3 separate regions of the Homo sapiens genome follow, and all the other regions are linked to region 3. The links are contacts of gene promoters, found by promoter capture Hi-C in human tissues and cell types (Jung and others, 2019). All regions are on one chromosome and are shown on one strand. Each heading gives the region's core, a stretch centred on a gene start or on the middle of the fragment in contact. The rest is flanking DNA. Distances are from core to core; before and after follow the strand shown. Region 1 overlaps PCDH10-DT (PCDH10 divergent transcript). Region 2 overlaps PCDH10 (protocadherin 10). Region 3 holds the start of PCDH10 (protocadherin 10).

What was found. The method cuts DNA at HindIII sites, captures the fragments that hold promoters and counts their contacts. A contact is called where the count stands out against the background at its distance.
Region 1: a contact is called between a fragment that was not itself captured here and the fragment with the promoter of PCDH10 in region 3, in 2 of the 25 tissues and cell types used here (hippocampus and psoas muscle).
Region 2: a contact is called between a fragment that was not itself captured here and the fragment with the promoter of PCDH10 in region 3, in 2 of the 25 tissues and cell types used here (hippocampus and pancreas).

The regions. Positions count from the first base shown.
Region 1 is chr4:133,110,501-133,114,908 of GRCh38, forward strand. All of the region lies in intron 7 of PCDH10-DT (PCDH10 divergent transcript), which reads right to left. Among named protein-coding and RNA genes, the nearest start is that of PCDH10-DT, 36 kb to the right of the region's middle. The HindIII fragment of the contact is 3,323 bases long and covers 1,137-4,408 here.
Region 2 is chr4:133,190,095-133,194,012 of GRCh38, forward strand. It overlaps PCDH10 (protocadherin 10), which reads left to right. Exons shown (of 5, transcript NM_032961.3): 5 at 47-3,918. The coding sequence ends at 66. Among named protein-coding and RNA genes, the nearest start is that of PCDH10, 43 kb to the left of the region's middle. The HindIII fragment of the contact is 6,018 bases long and covers 1-3,918 here.
Region 3 is chr4:133,148,010-133,152,081 of GRCh38, forward strand. It overlaps PCDH10 (protocadherin 10), which reads left to right and starts at 1,285. Exons shown (of 5, transcript NM_032961.3): 1 at 1,285-4,072. The coding sequence starts at 2,132. It overlaps PCDH10-DT (PCDH10 divergent transcript), which reads right to left and starts at 1,107. Exons shown (of 9, transcript NR_125885.1): 1 at 1,020-1,107. RefSeq lists an enhancer at 1,029-1,088 and a silencer at 1,199-1,338. The HindIII fragment of the contact is 10,822 bases long and covers 1-4,072 here.

The DNA.
Region 1 (4,408 bases), core at 1,548-4,047, 36 kb before region 3:
TTTTGCAAGCAATCAGGAAAAGTAATCAGGACTTTTCCAGCTACAAGGGGTCGGGATTCCAACTCCAATCAGTTTAAGCAACAAATTAAACGAACTCACTTTTCTTCTCTCTGTTTTTCTCTTTTCTGTCTATATTAGACAATGTTGATTGTCCAGCTAAATCCAGTCCTAACCTCATTCTTTATTGCTGACTGAGTTGTTCAAGTGTTCACACTTCCCTAGTAAAATCATCAAAAAGGAAGGAAAACTCTATCACTTAAAAACAAATCAAGGTAATTACATTACCCTAACCATGATTGGTTTACAGCTTGTAAGAAGAAATTCTGGCAAATGAGACATGGAATGTAAAAGTCTTCTGAGTGGTGGAACTTCTTTGGATATTATTTTTCTCTTAAAAAGAGACAGATGACCTGTAGATATCACAAAATGATAGTTTATTATGAACAAAAAATTCCAAGATATTCAAAATTTTGCCAAAAGTGGACAAATCTTTAAACAATTACACATGAACAAAACTATTTCAAAACATGCAAAACCTAAAGTTCCTATACCATTAACATTCATCTATATCTGATTTAAGTAATAATAACAATCAATTAATGAAATAATTGTATTAAAATTAAAAAATCCTCTTGGAAAGAAAGCAGCAGGCTTGAATGTCTTTGCTAGAGATTTTTATTAAAATCTCAAAAACAATTTAAATATATATAAATCATTTAAGAGAACTGAAAAAGAGGATATGCACCTTCTATACCACAACCTGACAAGGACAAAACCAAAAAGAAAAGTTATAGTTTTATCTCACCTATGAATACATGTAAGAAAATACTTAGCAGTTTTTGTAATTTACTAATATTTATAATTTTATAAGCATTAATACATTTGACGAATTACATAAAAAGGATAATATATCATGTCTAAGTTGGATTTATACCAATAAAGAAAAGTTGTCTCAATATTGGTAAATCTATATTTGTATTCTGCCATCTTAAGATATTTTAAAAATCACATGGAATTCTCAATACAGACAGACAAAACATTGTAGTACTCATTATAAAAATGTAAGCAGACTCTAATGGAGAAATTCCTTAGACTTAGAAGATCTAAAGAGCTTTACAAAAATATATTTAATTTTGAAAGTTTTCCTTTTGAGATTGGTGACAAGATTGGGAACCAGAAAATATGGATTTCAATGAACACTGTGCTGGAATCTGCCATCAGTGTAGTAAGGCAAGAGGAGAAAATAAAAATTTATACAAATTTTAAGAAAAATAATAAGACTATATTTCAATAAAATACCCAGTAAGGAATAGTTAAATTATTTGAATTAGCAAGAATTTAGCAATGCTGTAGCACACGTACCAATAATAAATCAATGAAAATCATTTTGCATGTTATTAATAAAATATTATCAAGTTCTCAGTAATGAATACATAAATGATGTGCAAGATTAAAAAAAAATTATTGATGAATTTTAAAGAATTAAATAAATCCAGATACATAGTATTACATGGATTGGAAAAATCAGTACTGCAGAGATCTGAATCTCCTCCTAATTTGTAGACTAATTTAATGTAATCATAAACCAAACTTTTAGTAGGGTGTATGTGTGGAATTTGACCAGTTAATTCAAATATTTATGTGGAAATCAATGGTCAAGATCTTTTAAAATAATCACAGGATTGAAGCAAATACTCTATAAGATATTTAGGCTTGCTATAAAGCCACAATAATTAGGACAGTTTGGTACTGACACAAAGGCAGACAATGGAACAAGGAAACAGAATGGAGAGCTTGAACCCAGACCCATGCATTATAGATATTTTACTTATGAGAAAGAAGCAATGTAGATTTGTCAGAAAAGAATTGTATGGAAATATCAGACTTCTCAAGAAATGGGATAATTAGGTATCTACATGAAAAAAATTAAACAGGACCAAACCAATCACACTAGGCAAAAATAACACCAGGTAGATTATAGACGTATATGTCAAAAAATAATTAAAAAGCAAAAGCAAGCAAATAAAAAACTCTGCGAAGGCTTAAGAGAATAACATAGTAAAACAGGATAGTATCTTTATAATCTTGGGGAAAAAAATAAACAAAACACCAAAAGTACTTTAAAGTGAGTAAGTTTCTTTTTTTCTTTAAACTGTTCATCAAAAAAAGATGAAGAAAGTAAAAGGATGTCACAGCACAGAAAAAGATAATTGCAACACATAACACTGACAAAGGATTTAAAAGTGGAATATGAAAGGAACTCAAAAAAAATCAATCAAAAAACCACAGCAAACAATGTTTTTAAATGGTCAAAAGACTTGAAGAGAAACTACAAAAAGAGAAAATTTAAATACCCTATAAACCCAAATGGTGTTCAAGGTTATTAGTAAGCAAGGAATTCCAAATTAAAATCACAATACCACTAAACAGCCACCAGTTTGCAACAATCATAAAGCCTGAAAACATCAGTTGATTCTTACTGTATGTAGCACCCAGAATCATTAAAACTGCAGACAAAAGCATATATTGCTGTAATAACTTTTGAATGCATACATTCGAGTCACCACTTCCGCTTCATACATACAGTAATGTTTGTGCATGTATTATAGAAAATATATAGGATTGATCATAGCAGCACTATTATACCTCCCACCAAACAACCAAATACACAATCAAATGGATTAATAAATTGTTGTATAAGCATATAATGGAATACTATGCAGCATAAAGGGGAAAATCAAAAGCTACAACCAACAACATGGGTGAATTTTATATAAACATGTTATTCAGTGAAGATAACACCATAGGATACTGCATACCACAAAATTTGGTTATATAAAGTTCAAAACAGGGCAAAACTAAACTATATTAGTTAGGGTTATATACACAGATTTCAAGATTCTAAAGGAAGGAAATTCTTCCCACTTTCTGGGGGAATTCAAAAAATCAGAAACCAGATAAATGCAGGTAACTGTCTCGCTTTCAGAAAAAAAAGTCAGGGCATTGCTGCCTCCTTGATCCTAGCTACTTAAAGTACCTAATGTTATGTATGGGAGCATTATCTATGATAATTAATTTATTTATAGTTTGTGGCATAATTTTTACCATGTGCTGTAATAAAAAAATCTATCTGAAACAAATACCAAGACATTCATGAGTGCATGCTATATTTTTCCACCCACATAAAAATTACCACAAAGCTTCTTACATTCATTATTCTCAAGTAAATCAAAATGATAATTGGTATTTGAAATGAACTAAATGACTAGATACTTCACAGATAGAGTCATTATCATCTCAAAACCTTTTAAGGATTACTATCAATGATTTAAATTTGATGGTTTTGCTAACGCTGAAATGAAAAGATTATGACTTTTCAAAGAAATGTCATATGGTGTGATATAGAAAAGAACAGCAACAGCAAATGAATCATGTCTATTGGTAACCTCAAGGAGATCTGAGTTGCTGGATAACATAATATTTAAAATTTAAAAATCTTTTTTTTTAAATTAAAAGTATGTGCAAAGATCATGGCTACCTGGAATTCAAGAAAGAGTTCTGTTGGTCAAACATCTTAATTTGAGCATCACTTAAGCATAGTATTCACTAGAACAATTATAGCATTATTACATTCTTTACTTCTGCACCCTCCATATTAACTATCCAAATGGCTCCTTAGAGCAATACAAGCTGTGGATTGTACTGTTAAGATGGAAACTTTGTGACGTTAAGCTGCTATCACAGGTAACATACTTTCTTCTGTGACGGCAATAGGATTGATTATATTAAAAGAGGCCTTGCATTCTTCTTTCTGCACTTCCCATAAATCTTTAGGACTATAAGCATGTAGGCAGACACAAAAGCAAAGCAAGGTGTGTGTTGTTTACAGTTGTAATACAACTGATTTCTCTTGTGCCTCTAACTCTCATCACCAAAAACCAAAGCCCAAAGCTTAGTCTTGGAATTTTTATATTTCAAATCTTTCCTTTCCTTATCCCCACATTTGTCAGTCACAGTCTGGCAAGGCTAACTTCGTGCGTATTTCACCACTGGGAACTTTATATTCAGTGGCGTATGGACTGGATGTTGATTTTGAATCTCAAAAAATTTGTTATTTAAAAATAAAAGAAAAATTACCTTGGAAATAACCTTGTAAAGGCACTTCAAATCTTTCTTTTAGCTGAAAAAAAAAAACCTAAAAAGCCAAAAACAGAACGTAATATTCTTTTCTTGTCTGGTTTCAGTCAGACCTTATAAAAAGGAAATAGAGAAAGAAAAATTGCTAAAACTGAAGCTTTTTTGTCAGCTAAGAAAATACAAAGTCTCTAGAGGTTTCTCTTTTCCATTTCCTTGGTTTCTTCTGTCAAATTTTATAATAAAATCAAACACAAATGTGAAAAAGAACATA
Region 2 (3,918 bases), core at 915-3,414, 43 kb after region 3:
AAAGTCAACCTCTTTTTCTTAGAGTATTTTTCTTTCTTTTTCACAGCACGGAAAAGGATATGCTAGTCAATTCTACAGGACTTACCTGAAGCAGCATGATTTGCACAAAGTCGACCAACAAAAGCATCAACTTTTCAACTTCATTATCTTGGCCATCCAGTTAGTCATGTGTAACTGAGTATTAGATTTCGGATGGAGTCATCATGGCCAATTATAGGACCTAATTGCTCTCAGCAGGCCTGAGAAATGAGTTGAAATGTGCAGAACTGTAGAAACTTTAGAGGCAACAGATTTTGCCTCCCCGATCAGTGTGTGCCTGTTTACAGCACTATCTATCTTTCTCTCTCCAAATGTCACTGAGCCCTTTAGATGTTTATATTCACCACGAGAAGCCAGTCATAAAGATAAAGGAAATTTGTGCATTATAAATGCAATATCACTGTTTTAAACTTGACTGTTTTATATTATTTTTGTGTGATCAAGTGTTCCGCAAGCTATTCCAACTTTACAAGAGAAATTGTGATTATGTTCTTTTCACCTGTGGGTTATAAAAAATGTTGTATTCTGAAGACCCACAAAATATCAAAGACATTCTGTAGTTTATACACCGTGTTGCAAAGTGTTTACTGTACTATTTCAAAGCTTCTAAATAAATATAAAATATATATATTATATTATATAATTTTCCTAAAATGTGGTACAACTCAGTTGGTTTTTAAATGGATGCATACAGTCCACATCATACAATAAAATAAAAGGTAATTCAGGGTCCCAAAGACAAACTTACTAAGAAAAAATCATTAATAGTTTTCTCCCAATTTCCATATCTTACTCAACCGTGTTTTTCCTTGTTTAAAAGAAAATGATGCTCTAAGCTACAAAATTTTGTCAAAAACTCATATTGAATTTTCAATGCCAAAGATGTAGCTATTGATGTTATCAGACAGAGCACTGACTATGTACTATCAAACTATCTAACAATCTGCATAAGTCTGATTCTATTTCTATGACTTTGAATTTAGAATCACTTAAAGCTTTTATAAAGAATCGATAAATTCACCTGTATTTGTTGTTAGAAAAAAACTGGGTGTCTGTACATTTTGTGGTGTAAAATATGTAATTGAAGATTACTATTTTAAGAAGTCATCAGTCATATCACTCACACAGAATTTTATTTTACATAGTTTTGTGACTTAATTACACATGAATATAAAATCTATAATTCTATATGAATATATAGAGATATAGAAACATCTGAACTGGTAAAGAATAACTATAAAATATGAAAGCTCTAAATTTAAAATAAATTTAGAGATAGAATCATGGTACATTATTGTTTCAGTATTCCATGTGAAAATTTTATAGCTTAAATGTAGTCAGTGTTTGATTAATGAAAAAATTCTTCATGAGTCAGCCTTCAAAAGTTAAGCTTGCCTTTTACTTTTATGTCAACAATATTAATTATTAAATTTAGTAAGACGCACTTTCCTTTCTTTTATATATTTTTTCTACTGTTGTGTATGCCTTGTTAGAACACATTCGAGAGAGGAAAAAAATCAGAGAATATAAGATAATCTTTCAAGCAAAAAACAGAATTGTCACAGCTCCCCTCGCCCTCTAAACTATGATATCAAAACATCATATCAAAGCTTCAACATTATATCAAAATGTTTGCCCAGTTCAAATTAGAAACCTGTTTTGAAATACTTTCCTTAATTTTTAACTGATCTTATATTCAATGACAGTTTGAGCTGCACTGTGTTATTAAAGAATAGACTAAAACTTAACATTTGACAAATGTTCTTCATCAAATTTTATGTAACTTAAGTGGAAATTTTTCCCTAGATTTAACTTTAAAATACATATATATACACACACACACACACACACACACACACACACTTAGGTCCTGATATGTACATTTAGAGTGATATATTGGTATCACTCATTTGACTGTTATCAAATTAGATATTAATATATCATATTCCAATCAGTTCATATATCAAAATAATGTATGTAATGTTCCAGCCTTTTGAAGTCTCTTTAAACATATATGAAGCTAACAGATCATATGTAATACAAAAAGCACATAAATTCACTAAGTGCAGCAGTAACATTTTCTTAAACTTTGGCATTACTACATTAATATTTTGAATGATAGACTATTTTAGTAAGGAAATGTTTATACATAATTTAACTGGAAAAAAGTCTGTTTGTTCCAACTCTTTTTTTTAGCAAGAAAATGATTTTCTTGTTGAGTCACTCTGCTTTAATTAAAATGTTTCACGCATCATTTTGCAATCATGGGTGAATATCCACATCCATCTTCCTTACTGCATGCATTGAAAATAAGATTATACTCACTTCATGTATAGTAATTATATTGTCATTTACCTCAAAGACATTTTCTTTAATTATTTAACCTTTTATATCATTGTATATAATCTCCTTTGAACCAACTTTTTTATTATATATTTGTGTATTAGTTATTTTCATATATCCTAGGAACTAGTTATACTAACTTACATTTTAGTTATCATCAATCTACAAAACCAAAACCAGAACTTCTTCCTAATTTGCGGGACAAATAGAATTGTTTAAGGATAAAATGCTACATTATTAGGTCATTAATCAACTTATCTGTTGCATCCAAAGTAAATTAGAAGTTACAACAGAGTAAGGATATGATTCTTGTAAGTTGGTTAAAATGTTTTCTTCCAATGAGGGGGACTATAAAATGGAAAGTGCAACCAACAAATAATGAAGGTTTCTAATTAAGCATTTACTAGATTAATATATCAAGGAATTTTAGGATAGGTTTTCTCTTTAATCTGGTCATTCTAATATCCAATCTTACATAATTTTATATACATCAAAGAATAATATCCATCGTATTAGACAGTATTTCGTCAATAAATTATTTCAGAAAAAAAAATCATGTCATTTACTCCTTGTTAACATGGTTAGTTTTAGAGCAGTCAAAGTCAAAAAAAATTTCCTGTGGAAACAGTGTCTTAATGTTTCAAAGGTATGTCAAAAGACAATTTTTAGAAAATATTTCATCCACATGTAGAATTCTAATTTTTAACGTGTGAACATAGTTTGGTGAAATCATCTTAAATCAAATTTAAATATCACATCAGAATTACTTCACAGATATAATAGCGTCAATGATATATGTATCATCTTTTCTTGGCAAATATTAAGGAAATATGTGTATTTTATTTTTTAAAGATATTAAATGCACTGCCTTTATCAAACATTGCAAATTAAGAACTATAGTAGAATATTTAAATATTTTAATTTCTCATTGTTTTATTTGTTAATTGGATTGTAATTTGCCATCAGATTCTCTGTATTATAGAAGCTATCTTGCTTCTTCAATAAGAGGAGGAAAAAGAATCTCACAATTCCCAATATAATCTTTAACAACTGTACGTTAATTGTACCATTTTACCTTCTAAACATTATTTACTGGAGCTCAGTTAGTCTTTAAAACAATTACTCAGGCAGAGTGTGGCAAAAGTTCAGCAAGATCAAGAAAAGTATTTAAGTTATTGACTGATCATAGCACTGTTATTTGTCATTGCATGTGTTTTTCCCCCTCATGTTTCTATGTGTGCTATTGATACCCAAGGAACTCAAAAATACTTAAAATATTGGTATACTTGATGATTTTTCTGAAAATCTTATATTTTTCATATTACAAATTCTTGAGTTCTTTATCTTTTTCAAGTCTAATTTTGTAGTGGTAAAGGCTTTGCACTTAACATCCTTTTGTGTTCCTTTTTAACAAGGAAAAACAGAAAATAATGGAATTCCATATTTTTTACACCATGGAGTAGTAAAATTATTTTATATATTGTTAGTACTTCAACAAACATCCCTCTGCTAAGTCAGACAAAATCCTTATACAGT
Region 3 (4,072 bases), core at 35-2,534:
CGTTGCCCCTGCGCCTCCGGAAGGGGCACTCACAGCTGGTCAAGCGCGTCCTTCGGAACTCGGGGAGGCTCCGTTGGGGCTTACACAGAGCTAAGCCCTGGGCCAGGGAGGATGGATGCAAGTACCGTGCATGTGCAAACGTGTTCGCAGATACCCGCAGCGGTGCACACTCGGGCCCCTCGTGTGCACGGGCCCTGCCCACCACCCCGCCCGCGTTCGCCGCCGCCCCACTGTCCTCATCCCGCGGGCTGACCCCAGGATTGGCAGAAATCAGTGGTCTAATCTAGCATGGTGGGTAAAGGGATCGATCTCCAATTGCCAAAAAAAAAATAGAAAATAGCCGGTGTTCCCAGCCGCTGCGTGGCACTTGGCCGCACAAGGCGCAGGGATATCAGAGGCGCTTTGCAGCGCTTGGCGGTGCTGTGTGCCGGATGCCCCAGAGCCCGGCGTTAGGATGGCGGGCTTGTAGGAAGCGGCTCAAATCAACTCCTCAGTCACTGATGAACGCGCTCACGGCTCGAAGCTAGGTCCTCGAGTGAGTTAATCTACTTGGTAAGTATTTTGTGAATATGTATTTTGGGAGGAAAGAAGCACGTCGAACGCGTCTGCCCGTCTGTAAGCGCTGTCATCCCCACATCCTTTAGCGTGAATTCCTCCGCTTTTTAGGAGTCACCTCCACCCCCTACTCCGTATGCTTCGCGCCTTTCCTCACGGCCCCGTCAGACCCCCTCACCTTTAGATTGACACATGCCATATAATACTCACTTTTAAAATGCCCTGCCAGTCTCTGCTAGGGTCCCTTAATTAGGTAACCCTTGCCAATTAGTGGGCCCTGCGCTACTTTTTCCCTTCTCGATGATTTATTTCCATGATGCGTATTAGGGAAAATACCTTAAAGGAAAAAGAATGTTAGCATCATTGGAAATCCCGCTCCTAGGAGAGGATATCGCAGCTGTTGCTATTATGTTTTCGCATTTGCTGATGCAAACAGGGGAACCTCTCTATTCCCTCCCCATTACCTGCGGCTGGGGACTGGGAACTTTCCGCGGCATTGTCCCCAGCCAGCGCCTCGGGACCTGCGGGGCTGTTCTCGCTCTCACACTCACACTCACCCCGGCCGCTCGGGCGAGAGTTCTGTCCCGCCCCGCCCGGCTGCCGCGTGACGTGTCTGTTTGGCGGCCAGTTTGGCCAATCATCGGCAGCTCGGTGGGTGGTGCTCCTGGGCGATTGGTTGGCAGAATGAGGGCGCTGCGCAAAAACGGAGAAGCCGAGCGCTCGGAGCTCAGAAACTGCCAGCCCAGACCACAGGCTCAGAGGCTGAAGCAGGAGGAAGGAAGGACTGGAAGGAAAAAGAGACAGGTTAGAGGGAAAGAGGCTTGGGAAGAAAACAGCAGAAAAGAAACTGCTCATTACACTTACAGAGAGGCAAGTAACGGTGGAGATGAGGACAGAGGGAACCAAGACTCTGAAAGACAAAAAATACAAATAGAGCGAAAGAGGAAAAAAATGTCAAGAAGAACATCCATCCGGAGAAATGAAGAGAATGAAAGTTTTAAGCTGCAGAGCCGTTCTGTGCTTTTCCGGCACAAAATTATATCGCTGATTTTAAGCCCTTTTGCATTTGCCAGCCGTTGACATTAAGAGGCATGTTTAACGGTGCCAACAGCATCTCCTTTTCCTTCTCCTCTTCCTCTTCTTCTTCTTCCTCCTCCTCCTCCTCTTTTTCCTCCTCCTCGTTCTCCTCCCATCAGCAAGAAGACAAACCGAGGACAGTCTTGAAATATCGAAATTTCCTCTTTGGGATTTGCCAGCGCCAAGACTGTCGGAATAAAGGACGCTGACTATTGTATTATTGTTATTTTATTAATTAGTCAGTGGAAAGATTACAGATGAGGAAAGGGGACGCCTGTCACCCTTCCTGTGCTAAGATTTAAAAAAAAATGAGGCTGGATTGCGGGAAGCTCTAAAATGAAGCAAAAGGAGTAAGATTTTTAAAGACAGAAAGCCACAGGAGCCCCCACGTAGCGCACTTTTATTTGTATTTTTTCAGATTTTTTTTTGTTTCGTGGTGGTGGGGGAGGTGATTGGGTGGCTGACTGGCTGCGGGAAGCTACTTCCTTTCCTTTTGGAGATGATTGTGCTATTATTGTTTGCCTTGCTCTGGATGGTGGAAGGAGTCTTTTCCCAGCTTCACTACACGGTACAGGAGGAGCAGGAACATGGCACTTTCGTGGGGAATATCGCTGAAGATCTGGGTCTGGACATTACAAAACTTTCGGCTCGCGGGTTTCAGACGGTGCCCAACTCAAGGACCCCTTACTTAGACCTCAACCTGGAGACAGGGGTGCTGTACGTGAACGAGAAAATAGACCGCGAACAAATCTGCAAACAGAGCCCCTCCTGTGTCCTGCACCTGGAGGTCTTTCTGGAGAACCCCCTGGAGCTGTTCCAGGTGGAGATCGAGGTGCTGGACATTAATGACAACCCCCCCTCTTTCCCGGAGCCAGACCTGACGGTGGAAATCTCTGAGAGCGCCACGCCAGGCACTCGCTTCCCCTTGGAGAGCGCATTCGACCCAGACGTGGGCACCAACTCCTTGCGCGACTACGAGATCACCCCCAACAGCTACTTCTCCCTGGACGTGCAGACCCAGGGGGATGGCAACCGATTCGCTGAGCTGGTGCTGGAGAAGCCACTGGACCGAGAGCAGCAAGCGGTGCACCGCTACGTGCTGACCGCGGTGGACGGAGGAGGTGGGGGAGGAGTAGGAGAAGGAGGGGGAGGTGGCGGGGGAGCAGGCCTGCCCCCCCAGCAGCAGCGCACCGGCACGGCCCTACTCACCATCCGAGTGCTGGACTCCAATGACAATGTGCCCGCTTTCGACCAACCCGTCTACACTGTGTCCCTACCAGAGAACTCTCCCCCAGGCACTCTCGTGATCCAGCTCAACGCCACCGACCCGGACGAGGGCCAGAACGGTGAGGTCGTGTACTCCTTCAGCAGCCACATTTCGCCCCGGGCGCGGGAGCTTTTCGGACTCTCGCCGCGCACTGGCAGACTGGAGGTAAGCGGCGAGTTGGACTATGAAGAGAGCCCAGTGTACCAAGTGTACGTGCAAGCCAAGGACCTGGGCCCCAACGCCGTGCCTGCGCACTGCAAGGTGCTAGTGCGAGTACTGGATGCTAATGACAACGCGCCAGAGATCAGCTTCAGCACCGTGAAGGAAGCGGTGAGTGAGGGCGCGGCGCCCGGCACTGTGGTGGCCCTTTTCAGCGTGACTGACCGCGACTCAGAGGAGAATGGGCAGGTGCAGTGCGAGCTACTGGGAGACGTGCCTTTCCGCCTCAAGTCTTCCTTTAAGAATTACTACACCATCGTTACCGAAGCCCCCCTGGACCGAGAGGCGGGGGACTCCTACACCCTGACTGTAGTGGCTCGGGACCGGGGCGAGCCTGCGCTCTCCACCAGTAAGTCGATCCAGGTACAAGTGTCGGATGTGAACGACAACGCGCCGCGTTTCAGCCAGCCGGTCTACGACGTGTATGTGACTGAAAACAACGTGCCTGGCGCCTACATCTACGCGGTGAGCGCCACCGACCGGGATGAGGGCGCCAACGCCCAGCTTGCCTACTCTATCCTCGAGTGCCAGATCCAGGGCATGAGCGTCTTCACCTACGTTTCTATCAACTCTGAGAACGGCTACTTGTACGCCCTGCGCTCCTTCGACTATGAGCAGCTGAAGGACTTCAGTTTTCAGGTGGAAGCCCGGGACGCTGGCAGCCCCCAGGCGCTGGCTGGTAACGCCACTGTCAACATCCTCATAGTGGATCAAAATGACAACGCCCCTGCCATCGTGGCGCCTCTACCAGGGCGCAACGGGACTCCAGCGCGTGAGGTGCTGCCCCGCTCGGCGGAGCCGGGTTACCTGCTCACCCGCGTGGCCGCCGTGGACGCGGACGACGGCGAGAACGCCCGGCTCACTTACAGCATCGTGCGTGGCAACGAAATGAACCTCTTTCGCATGGACTGGCGCACCGGGGAGCTGCGCACAGCACGCCGAGTCCCGGCCAAG